Regions from separate parts of the Homo sapiens genome. Here all the other regions are linked to region 1. Evidence: promoter capture Hi-C in human tissues and cell types (Jung and others, 2019). All regions are on one chromosome and are shown on one strand. Each heading gives the region's core, a stretch centred on a gene start or on the middle of the fragment in contact. The rest is flanking DNA. Distances are from core to core; before and after follow the strand shown.

Region 1 (3,964 bases), core at 1,077-3,576:
AGTTTTATGTATCACATGTTATGCTCTCTTGGTATTTCATTATACTCCAGTCTTTAACAAAAAGGTGCAGAGGAGGGGAAAAAAGGGTGCTCTGGGAAATGAAGAGATGTATTTAAGAAGAATAAAGGTATCATCCTCACTAAATTGCAGATTGGAATTTCTACGTGTTAGGGGGGTGTTAGTCAATTGCGGGGAGCTTGACTGCTGGGTGATCAGGCCCAGATCCTGGAAGTCCCACTGTATGTTTTTTCTTTTGGACCTGTTACTCCAGGGGGGAACCCCCATCTGTCCTTTCTTGGGGAGAGGTTGGGGAATATGCTGGCTACAGCAATAGAAGAGGCCTCAGGTCCTCACATTTCAGTAAATGGACATCTACTTCATACCCATGTTCAGTAACCGCCCCCCCCCACCCCACACCCCAGCAAGCTAAGACTGGGGTCCTGTGATCTGGAGCCCTATGGTTCAGCATTTCTCTGGAACAATCTTCCTATCCCCCAACTAGTTGCTGCCTAGTATCAGCTTCCTATCCTTAAGGGGAAGGGCAGAAAGTAAGGATTCTTCCCCACCAGAAAATTGTAGTGCCAGAAGGAAAAGGAGAGGTTAACTATGATCCAAAGAAACAGAAAACCGGTGAATGGCTACCAAATGCTCACCATGTCCTAGAAAGAAACAATTCGTTTGAAACGTCAAACACTTACTATGGGTCAAACACTGAGAAGCTCTTACCATATCATCAAATCCTCGGGCAATAATCCTTGAGGCAAGCTTGAGAAATTCCATTCTACAGCTGAAGAAATCAAGGTTGGTGTGGCCAAGAGATATGGAAAAACCAAGTCACTCATCTTTGCCAGAGCTGAGAGTCAAGCCAGGATGGTCTGTCCATCTCTTAACCAGTACACTACCCATTAAATTAGCGCTGGCAACTATAGTGTGGGCTCAGGGAGGACAGCATCTAGGTATTTGACACAGAGGTGAGATAATGGTGATCTTTCCCTCTATCTGGGCTGGTCAAGATGTGGCCATCTCTGGAGGCTCCCAGGGCCTAAATAAGAGGCCTAGAAGACCTGGGATTGTCCCTGTAGCTCCCCATCTTGGAGTCAGCCTGCATTCATGGGGCAGGAGCCCTGAACCTGCATCAGGTTCCTTCTTTCTCAGGTAAGGAAAAAACTTAGAGCTGATAAGGCAGCACCACATTTTGCAGCCCCATTTTGGAGAGACATCTTTTTATTAGGACTTTGTAAGTCACTGCAGTAGTCTCCTAGGTCTCATTTATTGAATATTTAGATTTTTATTCCTGTTCTGTGACGCCCTTTTCATCTGCCTAAAAAAAAAAAAAGAAAAGAAAAAAGAAAAAGAAAAGAAAAGAAAGAGAAATCTTCCTAACACAGTCTTAAATACAGAAGGCTATGCACAATCTTACTTGTCCTACACTGCACAGCAAATCAAGCACTCACAGGCCTTCAGGTGCACCTGCCTGGTTTCCCTCCTCTTGGCTAGGGAAGTACTGGGGCAAGTGGGCAGTTTCTTTTTCAAATTTCCACTTATACCTGACCTTAGGTGGTGCCTATTCAACACTTACAGAATGAATGAAACAAAAAGGCTCATTTAGAGTGGGCGCTAAACAATGTGTACACATGGACTTAGTGGAATAGTAGACACTGGAGACTCCAAAAGGTGGGAGGGTGGGAGAGGGATGAGGGATGAGAAATTACCTATTAGATACAATGTACAACATTCGGGTGACAGTTACACTAAGAGCCCAGATGCCACCACAATGCAATATACCCATGGAACAGAACTGCACTTGTAACCCCTAAATCTATTTTTTAAATGATACCCCCCAAAAAGCAGTTTGGGGTCTGAGAGTAAGGGAGGGAGAGGGAGAATGAGAGGCGGGAAGTGGGGTGGGGAGAGACAGGCGGGGAGGTTCCGGTGTGAAGTTGTTTCCGCGCAAAAGAAGGAGAGCGGCTGGCGGGGCAGACATAGGTGTCAGGAGGACAGGAAAGGGGACAGGACCAGGAGGCTGGCGCTTACCCCAGGAGGATGAGGAACCGCGGGTCCGTGGCCAGGTTGGCGTCAATGGTGACGGACAGGAACGAGGGGCTCACCAGGTGCAGCGGCTCCTGGGTGAAGAAGTCCAGGTCCACGACGTCCTGTGCTTGCGCAGGTCGGGGCAGGGCGCCAGGGGAGAGGGGACCCAGCGGCCCCAGGAGCAGCAGCATCAGCGGCGGCGGCAGCGCAGGCTTCGAGCGCAGCAGCATCTTGGGCTCACCTGGCTGCTCCCCCCGCCAGCTGCCGCGCAGCGGAGAGTCGAGAGCTCTAGCACTTCCTCCCGCCGAGCCCCAGCGCCCTTTTCTCCTTTCCTCCGCCCCGTTACGCCTCCTCACCCCTCCCACTGCGCCCTCCATCCCTCCCACTCCTCTTCTGCATCCCTCCCACTGCTCCCAATCCAACCCCGCCCCGCCTGCCCGGCTCTCTCCTACTTCCTTGCTCGCTTTCCCCTCGGTGGCGGTCACGTTCACTTACGAAATCACCCACACCCACTTGAAGGGTGCGGAGATGGCCGGGATCCAAGCGCCCGGGAGGCCTGGGGAGGAGCGCCCGGGGAGGAGCGCCCGGGGAGCAGCGCTGGGCATCCCGGACCAGGCTTCCTGACGCACGTGTTCTGCGCGCTCTCGTGGGAACCCAGCGTTTCCGACTCCCAGATCCCATTCTGATGGCGCCGGGTATCCCTCTGACCCTCGAGTAAAACCTCCAATGGAGTATTCATCCCTTCCTCTCCCATCTAGCTTATAAACACTTGCTTGTCACTTGAGCCAGCCAAAATCTGATTGTCCTCTGGCCAGGCAGTTTCTCAGGTATTTTACTTTTGCTTGAAAAAATCTGGCCTCAGCATACGCTAAACTGCAGCTGGAAAGAGATCAACCACCCAAAATTCTTTATCAACTTCTCATTAAGACAATATTTAGCAATCTTAAAGGGTTAGTTGCTCCAATGTCTGGAACTCAGGACCTGAAGCCCCCATACAAAGTGTAGAGTACGGACTGCCCCTGAATTTGGAGCCTTTGCCAAATTTCTCCTCTGCGCATTTATCTTTCGCTGTTGGTCAGACTTTTCTTCAGCTTTTCCTTGATGCTTACACTGATGTATAATCATAGCAAGCATCGCACGCTTAGTGCCTACTGTATGCCTGATACAGGTGCTTTACTTGTGTTCTCTTCCCTTCTCACAACCCTGCCAAGTGCATACTGTCCTTGTTTTACACATGCGGACCCAAGCTCTGAGACAGTAACTGGGTGAAGTGTCAGAATCGGGATGTGAAGTGTCAGAATCGGGATGTGAATGCAGTTACAAAACCTCGAGCAGATGGCAGTGTGTTTCAGCTGAAATGTAACTTCCCTCAAGGAAGCTTTCTCTCAATCTCCAGGCAGCTCTCCATGACACACTCTCATAGCATCCTCAATTTGTTAGACACTCTCGTAGCATCCTCAATTTGTTAGACACTCTCGTAGCATCCTCAATTTGTTAGTATTGTGATGTTGCTCAACATTGGCTTCATCTACTAGATTATATGCTCCACCAAAACAGAGATTAAGTTTGTCTCACACGCTATGCTAGCCATAGCTCAGGCATGTGATCATGTTGGTGCTTAGTAAGAGTCTAATAAATATTGGTTGAGTAAGCAAATAACACCAAAACCCTTAGATTTTTCCACTTGAGATTGTACCACCAATAAGGCAACAAATAAAAATAGATTATTTTGAAATGCATATCTAATTTGCATAAATCAGGCCAGGCATGGTATGTGATGCCAGTGATGCCATCATGCCTGTGATGCCAGCATTTTGGGAGGCCAAGGTGGGAGGATTGCTTGAGCCGAGGAATTCAAGAACAGCCTGGGCAACATGATGAAACCCCATCTCTACAAAAAATACAAAAAATTAGCCAGGCGTGGTGGCCCGTG
Region 2 (3,964 bases), core at 969-3,468, 210 kb after region 1:
GGGTCACACCTATAATCCCAGCACTTTGGGAGGCCGAGGCAGATGGCTCACCTGAGGTCAGCAGTTCGAGACCACACTGGACAACATAGTGAAACCCCATCTCTACTAAAAATACAAAAATTGGCTGGGCCTGGTGGTGGGTGCCTGTTGTCCCAGCTACTTGGGAGGCTGAGGCAGGAGAATCGCTTGAACCCTGGAGGTGGAGATTGCAGTGAGCCGAGATCATGCCATTGGACTCCAGCCTGGGTAACAAGAGCGAAAACTCCTTCTCAAAAAGTAAAATAAAATAAAATATAAAATGTTAGCTCACGCCTGTAATCCCAGCACTTTGGGAGGCTGAAGCCAGTAGATTGCTGAGCTCAGGAGTTTGAGTACAGTCTGGTCGACAAGGTGAAACCCGGTTTTTACAAAAAATACAAAAATTAGCTGGGAATGATGATGCGGGCCTGTGGTCCCAGCTAGTCAGGAGGCTGAGGTGGGAGGATTGCTTCAGCCTGGGAGGTCAAGGCAGCAGCAAGCCCCTGTCTCAAAAAAAAAAAATTTTGTCTCTGCCCCTTCAAGGGTGCTTATGTTCAATAATAATTATTACAGTACTTTTTAGTATAAAAGCCCTTGGGATTCTCTAGAATGAGAGACTTGAAAAGTTCACTAGCAGTTTTTGAACTATGATGTTAATAGTGAATAATTTGGGAAATGTGTAAAAAATGTATAAAGAAAAAAATAAAAAAATCACATCTGGGTACGTTTCTTTATACTCCTAGGTATATTCAAAACAAAGTGAGAGTTGTTTTCCAGTTCTTAAATTCCCTCAAATCTGTAGATCTTCATAATTGTAACATTTTCCTATGCATCTTCATAAGTAACCATGTGGACAGATCATTTTCCGTAGTTCATGATTTCTTTTTCATTCTTTTTTTTTGTTTTTTTGTTTTTTTGAGAGAGTCTCACTCTGTTGCCTAGACTGGAGTGCAGGTGCCCGATCTCTGCTCACTGCACCTTCTTCCTCCCTGGTTCAAGCAATTCTGTTTCAGCCTCCAGAGTAGCTAGGATTACAGGCATGCGTCACCATGCCTGGCTAATTTTTGTATTTTTAGTAGAGATGGGGTTTCGCCATGTTGGCCAGGCTAGTCTTGAACTCCTGACCTCAAGTGATCCACCCTCCTCGGCCTCCCAAAGTGCTGGGATTACAGGCATGAGCCAATCGTGCCTTAGTTAATGATTTCATCGAGTCCTTTCCAGCTTTCCAAGTCTGTGCTGCCTCTTTCTGCAAGCTTATTTCTGATGCATCTTTGAGCGTGTCCTACCCCTGAATGTCTAATTTGTTGTGAAAATAATTGTTACACTTTACGCCCTACGTTTAGGCCCTTACATGTGTCATCTTGTTTAATGTGACAGCAACCCTATGGGATAGGATCTATTATCCTTGTTTTACAATGAGGAAACGGAGGCCTATAGGGAATAAGTAATTTCAAACCCAGACATTCTTGATGCCGTGACCTGTACTCATGCCCCCCATGCTTCACAGCCTTTTCAAGGAGTAATTTATCAGGTCACCAATGCATGTGAGGCAGTTGAGAAAGGGTAAATATTGTCCTTTCCACATTTTATTAGGGTATTATCAGTAAGTGATATAAAAGTATACTTGGGACTTGGAATATTGCTATATCAGAGATTCCCTGGGGTTAGCTCTTTAGTTCAGACACTGCCAGAGCTTGATGTGTAATTTCACTTCTGTATAATCATGGTTGAAGTGTTTTATGTTGTGTCTGTGGGACAGTTTAAATTAATATTTCTTGTTTTTGAACAGTGGGCCACAATACGAATTGAAAAAGGAACCCCAAAGGAGTCGATTCTTAAAAACTCTGCTTCTGTTGGTGAGTTTTCCTTTTCATTATGATTGTTACCATATTTAAATTGGGTGGATGTAAACCTACCCAATTTGAACTTGAAATATGCAGAGAGCAGTGTGTTCTATAGGGTTTGGATCTTTCATAATTCTGTCAGTGTAAAATTGCAGCTGCCAGAGTTTTCATGGACTTTTTATTGTAAAGGTGGTAATATGTGTTAGCTCATCTATATGTTCTTATAGGTATTGTTTTCCTTTCTAAGGGCATGTATTTGAAGATGGCTGTCCGTGGTTTTAAAGATGTAGTCGATGGCCAAAAGAAAAAAAAAAAGAAAGAAAAAGGCTAATGGGAGTTCCTGGGAGTTAAAACCTATTATTGAGGTTTCGTTAACCAACTTGTGATTCTCAAAGTATGTTCCTCAAAGTACTCTTTTCTGCTGAAGGCTAATTGGTAATACATGAAATAAAAAATAATTTTCTCGTGAAATAAGTTTAGGAATCATCACATACTATACTTGCCTTTGGAGAGTATTAGTGCCTACTAATAAAGGCTCAGAAAAGTCCTGCAATAAAGAAACATGCTTGACCAGGTGCAGTGGCTCACGCCTATAATCCCAGCACTGTGGGAGGCTGAGGCCGGCAGATCGCTTGGGCTCAGGAGTTCAAGACCAGCCTGGGCAACATGGCGAAACCCTGTCTCTACAAAAAATACAAAAATTAGCTGAGTGTGGTGGTGCGCACCTGTAGTCCCAGCTACTCAGAGTGGGGTCCTGAGGTGGGAGGATCACTTGAACCCTGGAAGTTGAGGCTGTAGTGAGCTGTGATCATGCCACTGCACTCTGGCCTGGGCAATACAGTGAGACCTCATTTAAAAAAAAAAAAAAGTCAAACTATCAAATACTTTACTGGAAGGAATTTATCTTCTGGAAGCTTTTCTAAAAGGAATTGTAGAAATTGTATTCTATAGTGAGTTTTGGAAATAACAAAATATTTGAAAACATTGGAGTATTTTTGTATAATTGGATTATGATTTTCAAATGATTGAAGCAACTAGTAGAGCTTCATGGTGTATACTTAAACACCCAAATATTATCACCAATCACATTTTTACCAAGTCCGGATATTTCTGGCTATATTTTATCCTTTTTTTAATTGCCAGATACCTTCTCTGAAATATAGCAGCTCTATCATTTAAAAAAATTATTCTGGTTCATTAAAAAATGTATGTCCTTATGATTTAAGGAAAGAACAAACTTTGTTGCTGGTTTTCTGTTGTGCTTGGTGAGACTCTGAGCTGTTGATCTTGAGAGAAAATCAGTGGGCCTTAATAGATTGGGGTGATTGTGGTACATGTTTTGGGCCATGAATTTTAATTTAATTTAATTTTCTTATTTAAATTAAATTAAATTAATTAAATTTTCTGCTTTTGAGACAAAGTCTCCCTCTGTCCCCCAGGCTGGAGTGCGGTGGCGAGATGTCGGCTCACTGTAACCTCTGCCTCCCAGGTTCAAGTGATTTTCCTGTCTCAGCCTCCTGAGTAGCTGGGACTACAGGCGTGCGCCACCATGCCTGGCTAATTTTTGTATTTTTAGTAGAGAAGGGGTTTCACCATGTTGGCCAGGCTGGTCTCAAACTACTGACCTCAAGCGATCCTCCCACCTCGGCCTCCCAAAGTGCTGGGATTACAGGCATCAGCCATTGCACCCGGCCCAGCCATGAGTTTTAAAGGACACAAAGTATTTCAATTTGGCAGGTGATGGGATTAAAAAATCAGTAGATGAGAGGGTCTAGTAGCGTGGATTTAGTTTTTTTTTTTTTTTTGCCTATACAGAAATGAGAACTTTTTGAATATTTATACTTGTTGGATTACTATTTTTATTATAATCTTTGTCAAATATCTGCTTTTTCTGTTTTTGATCTTTGTCTTTTCTATGGTGTCTCCAGGAAAGAATGGAAGTGAACAGGAGGAGAAAATAGAAATCATAGTATTTTAGAGTAATGCTGATACCCGCAAAATTTGTCATATTTCATTCAGAGTGTCTACCCTTCCTTGTAGCCTGTTAAATTGGAAATTGACTCTCACAGTTATTGAACAACTGCAACATGTAGGGCTGACAA
Region 3 (3,964 bases), core at 806-3,305, 130 kb after region 1:
GCAGAGGTTGCAGTGAGCCAAAATTGCACCACTGCACTCCAGCCTGGGCGACAGAGTGAGACCCTGTCTCAAACAAAAACAAACAAAAAAACTTTGAAACAAAAAAAATACAGATGCAGAGTTACTGCATAAATTTAACACTAAGAAACTCACAGTAAGTGAAACAAAGTGACTATCTTACTATTACGAAAGGATACTATTGAAGATTTTTTCCTGTAAGAGAAACTACTTTTGAAAAGCAGATCACTTCTGTGTGTCTTTAGTTTTAAAAGTATGAATACCAGTAACTTTTGATGCCATAATTCCATTTGGGAATATATCTGAATAACAACAAAAATATAAGATGATGTTTCTTAGTATAACATAAAACAACTGGGGGAGGGGAGAACAACTAATTAGTAAAAAAAGCAACTAATTTCCAACTGTAGGGTAATAGTTGTTTTGCCAGTTTTAGTGGACACTTTTTAGGATGTCTGCCAAGCCTACTTTTTACAAACTTTTTTTGCCCTGACATAAGAGTTTGCCAGTTACCCCTGTACCCACCTTTCACCAGAGCTGACCCAAACAGAACCAATGAGATTCTTGCCTGGCAATCTGGAGGTATTACATAGCCAATTGGCAGATCTTATGCTCTAGAAGAGATCTAAATGCAGGAGCTGTGGGTTGGCTGTTTTCTGGCCTGCCAGTGGATGAAGAAACAAAAAGGTCTGGAAGGATAGCAATGTGCAGACACAGAAAGTTCTATGGCATTCTAGCTCCTGGTTCCAATTCCTTCCTAAAGTTCAGCTGCTTTCTGCCTACAGTTCTTATGATATACCTCTACATTCCCTATTTTAGCCCAAGTTGGTATTTTTCCATAACATTCTCTATGAAATATACTGCCATTAAAAATAAAGAGGCCGGGCAAGGTGGCTCACACCTGTGATCCCAGCACTTTGGGAGGCTGAGGCAGGTAGATAACCTGAGGTCTTGGGTTCGAGACCAACCTGGCCAACATGGCGAAACCCTGTCTCTACTTAAAATACAAAAATTAGCCTGGCGTAGTGGTGGGTGCGTGTAATCTCAGCTACTTGGGAGGCTGAGACAAGAGAATCTCTTGAACCAGGGAGGCGGAGGTTACAGTGAGCCAAGATCATGCCATTCATTGCACTCCAGTCCAGGCGACACACTGAGACTCTGTCTCAAAAAAAAAAAAAAAAAAAAGAAGAAACTAAAAACAACTAAAGAATATGTAGCAACAGAAACAATGTTTTATGTACCAAGTTTTTTAAAAATCATGACAAATTTATGTCACCATGACTATTGACTATATCAAAGTATACATATATTAAGGAAAAACTGGAGCAAATGGCAGAGTGAAAATAGTTATGTTAAAATGGTGAGATTCCAGGCTGGATGTGGTGGCTCACACCTGTAATCCCAGTACTTTGGGAGGCCAAGGAAGGTGGATTGCTTGAGCGCAGGGGATGGAGACCAGCCTGGCAACATGGTGAAATCCTGTCTTTACACAAAATACAAAAAATTAGCTGGGTGTAGTGGTGCACACCTGTGGTTTCAGCTACTCTGGAGGCTGAAAGAGGAGGATCACTTGAGCCCAAGAGGTGGTGGTTGTAGTGAGCTGAGATCATGCCATTGCTCTCCAGCCTGGGTAACAGAGCAAGACACTGTCTCTAAAAAATAAGATGGTGAGATTCTGGATGTTTTTACCATCTAAAATTCCCGTTTCATATGAAAAAGTAGTGTAATATGAATCAAAATATTTATTTTAACTGCTTTTCTGTTAGTGTGCTCTACTGATGAGTGTGGTGGCCATGGAAATATACTCCTTAGTAAGATCTCCAACTGGGGGAAGCATAGTTGACTTAACAGCCCCAGCTTTGGACCTACCACTGTGTTAAGCCACACTTCCCCTGGGCTGTTCCTAGCCAATGACTAAGCACACTGCAGGTATTAGTGCAAGTCCATGCCTATAGAACAATTTTCGGGCAACTTTGCTCAAAGACTCCCTATCAGCCTAGTGGAACGTTCTTAAAATGGCGCTGCAGTCTGAGACTCTTCCTAACCACTTGTCTTCTTATCCCCCTCTCCTTTCTCAGGGGTCAGACTTGCAGTGTTGTCTGAAGGCTCTTCCTGCCTGTTCTTTCTTCCTCTTCTTTATCCTTCTCAGGCCCAATAAATCTCCTGCACTTATAATCCCATCTTGACATCTAGTTCTAAAAGGACCTGAACTGACACATGAAGAAGAACTGACACATGAAGTAGAGGGAAGTATACTGTTCCCAAATATACTTCCCTCTATTCTGTAAGAAGGATTATATATCCCTGCCTATTACCATGTGATGTGTTCAGGCCAGTGAAATGTGAGTAGAAGTGACATGGCCGTTTTAAGCAAAGTTTTAAGAGCTGTTGTGAATTTCCACTAGTTTTTTTTTTTTTTGAGACGGAGTCTCGTTCTGTTGCCCAGGCTGGAGTGCAGTGGCACGATCTTGGCTCACTGCAAGCTCCATCTCCTGGGTTCACGCCATTCTCCTGCCTCAGCCACCCGAGTAGCTGGGACTACAGGCGCCCACCACCATGCCCGGCTAATTTTTTTTGTATTTTTAGTAGAGACGGGGTTTCACTGTGTTAGCCAGGATGGTCTCGATCTCCTGATCTCGTGATCCGCCCACCTCGGCCTCCCAAAGTGCTGGGATTACAGGCGTGAGCCACTGCGCCTGGCTCCACTAGCTTTCTTGCTCTTTGCCTTATGCCATGAGGACATGTCCCAAATAAGGGCTGCTCCTTCAGCCTGGATCCTGGATGAAGATGACATTCAGAAAAGGAGTAGAGCTACAGCCAAGATAAAATGTGAGCAAGACTAAACCATAGTTGTTGTAAGCCACTGAGATTGCAATCTTTGTTAACTACAGCTGAAGAAATACAACTCAGTCAATGAAGCTAAAGGAATAATGACATCTCGTTCAACAAGGGACAGCATCTATGATGGGGTCTCACAAGATTATATTGGAGCACATATAGAAAGCTGATATATAGCACTTGATATTGGCATTACAGATCAAATAGGGGAAATGACTGATATTCAATAATAATTTGGGGACATTTGGTTTTCCCTATGAAAACTAAAAAGTAAAAATACATATAGGTTTGTGTAAGTATATGTTTGCACAATGATAAAACTGCCTAATGACACATTTCTCAGAAGGTACATAGCCTTCATTAAGCAACTCATAACTGTATAAATCTAATCAAGATGTCAGGTTATCCTAAAAAATGTCAGTCATTAACTTGATATGAACTCTATCTAGAAGTGGTTGACGTGTTTGATATGTTAACTTACCTTTAATTCCTCTTGTAATGAAGCATACATTTCATTTATCTTATGTACCTCCTTTAAGGATCCATCTTCTTCAAAAAATTTAGAGCTGTAAAAAATTACCATTTCCTCAGGCAAATACACAAAACCATTTTAATGATAAGGTGAAAAACTTATTCATTGTCAAGGACCAATAGAAGAGTCTTTTTACTGGTTTTGTAGGAACCATAATTTTGTCAATCTATGTGTATAGAGAAAAACCAACCACAAAACCTACTTCATTGATCTTCACATTAGCAAACTTTTTAGCCTCCTAAGTACTATTGCCAGGTCTCCCAAAAAGGCGAGGATGGGCGGGGGATGGGGGAAGATTGCATAAAAATAGATAAAAATTGAAGGAAGGAAAAAAAGTCTCTATTGGCAATGGGAACCGGAGTCAATTTTTAAAATATTTTACTGAATTCAAGTTACCTTTACTTGAAAGAGACATCATTATTTTATGATCCATAAAATAATGAAGAAAGTAATTCTAAGAAGGCATGACTTGTAGGACATCCCAATGTCAGAGATAAATATGAAAAATGTGCATCTTGCCGGGCGCGGTGGCTCACGCCTGTAATCCCAACACTTTGGGAGGCTGAGGCAGGCGGA

The links. Contacts are between HindIII fragments. The study calls those that stand out against the background at their distance.
Region 2: a fragment that was not itself captured here is called in contact with the fragment with the promoter of HPSE in region 1 in 1 of the 25 tissues and cell types used here (bladder).
Region 3: a contact is called between a fragment that was not itself captured here and the fragment with the promoter of HPSE in region 1, in 1 of the 25 tissues and cell types used here (neural progenitor cells).

Annotation. Positions count from the first base shown.
Region 1 is chr4:83,332,522-83,336,485 of GRCh38, forward strand. HPSE (heparanase) reads right to left here and starts at 2,327. Exons shown (of 12, transcript NM_001098540.3): 1 at 2,035-2,327. The coding sequence starts at 2,261. The HindIII fragment of the contact is 4,578 bases long and covers 241-3,964 here.
Region 2 is chr4:83,542,729-83,546,692 of GRCh38, forward strand. GPAT3 (glycerol-3-phosphate acyltransferase 3) reads left to right here. Exons shown (of 12, transcript NM_032717.5): 2 at 1,808-1,874. Among named protein-coding and RNA genes, the nearest start is that of GPAT3, 8.6 kb to the left of the region's middle. The HindIII fragment of the contact is 3,605 bases long and covers 417-3,964 here.
Region 3 is chr4:83,464,117-83,468,080 of GRCh38, forward strand. It overlaps ABRAXAS1 (abraxas 1, BRCA1 A complex subunit), which reads right to left. Exons shown (of 9, transcript NM_139076.3): 7 at 3,338-3,422. Among named protein-coding and RNA genes, the nearest start is that of MRPS18C, 10 kb to the left of the region's middle. The HindIII fragment of the contact is 8,435 bases long and covers 1-3,964 here.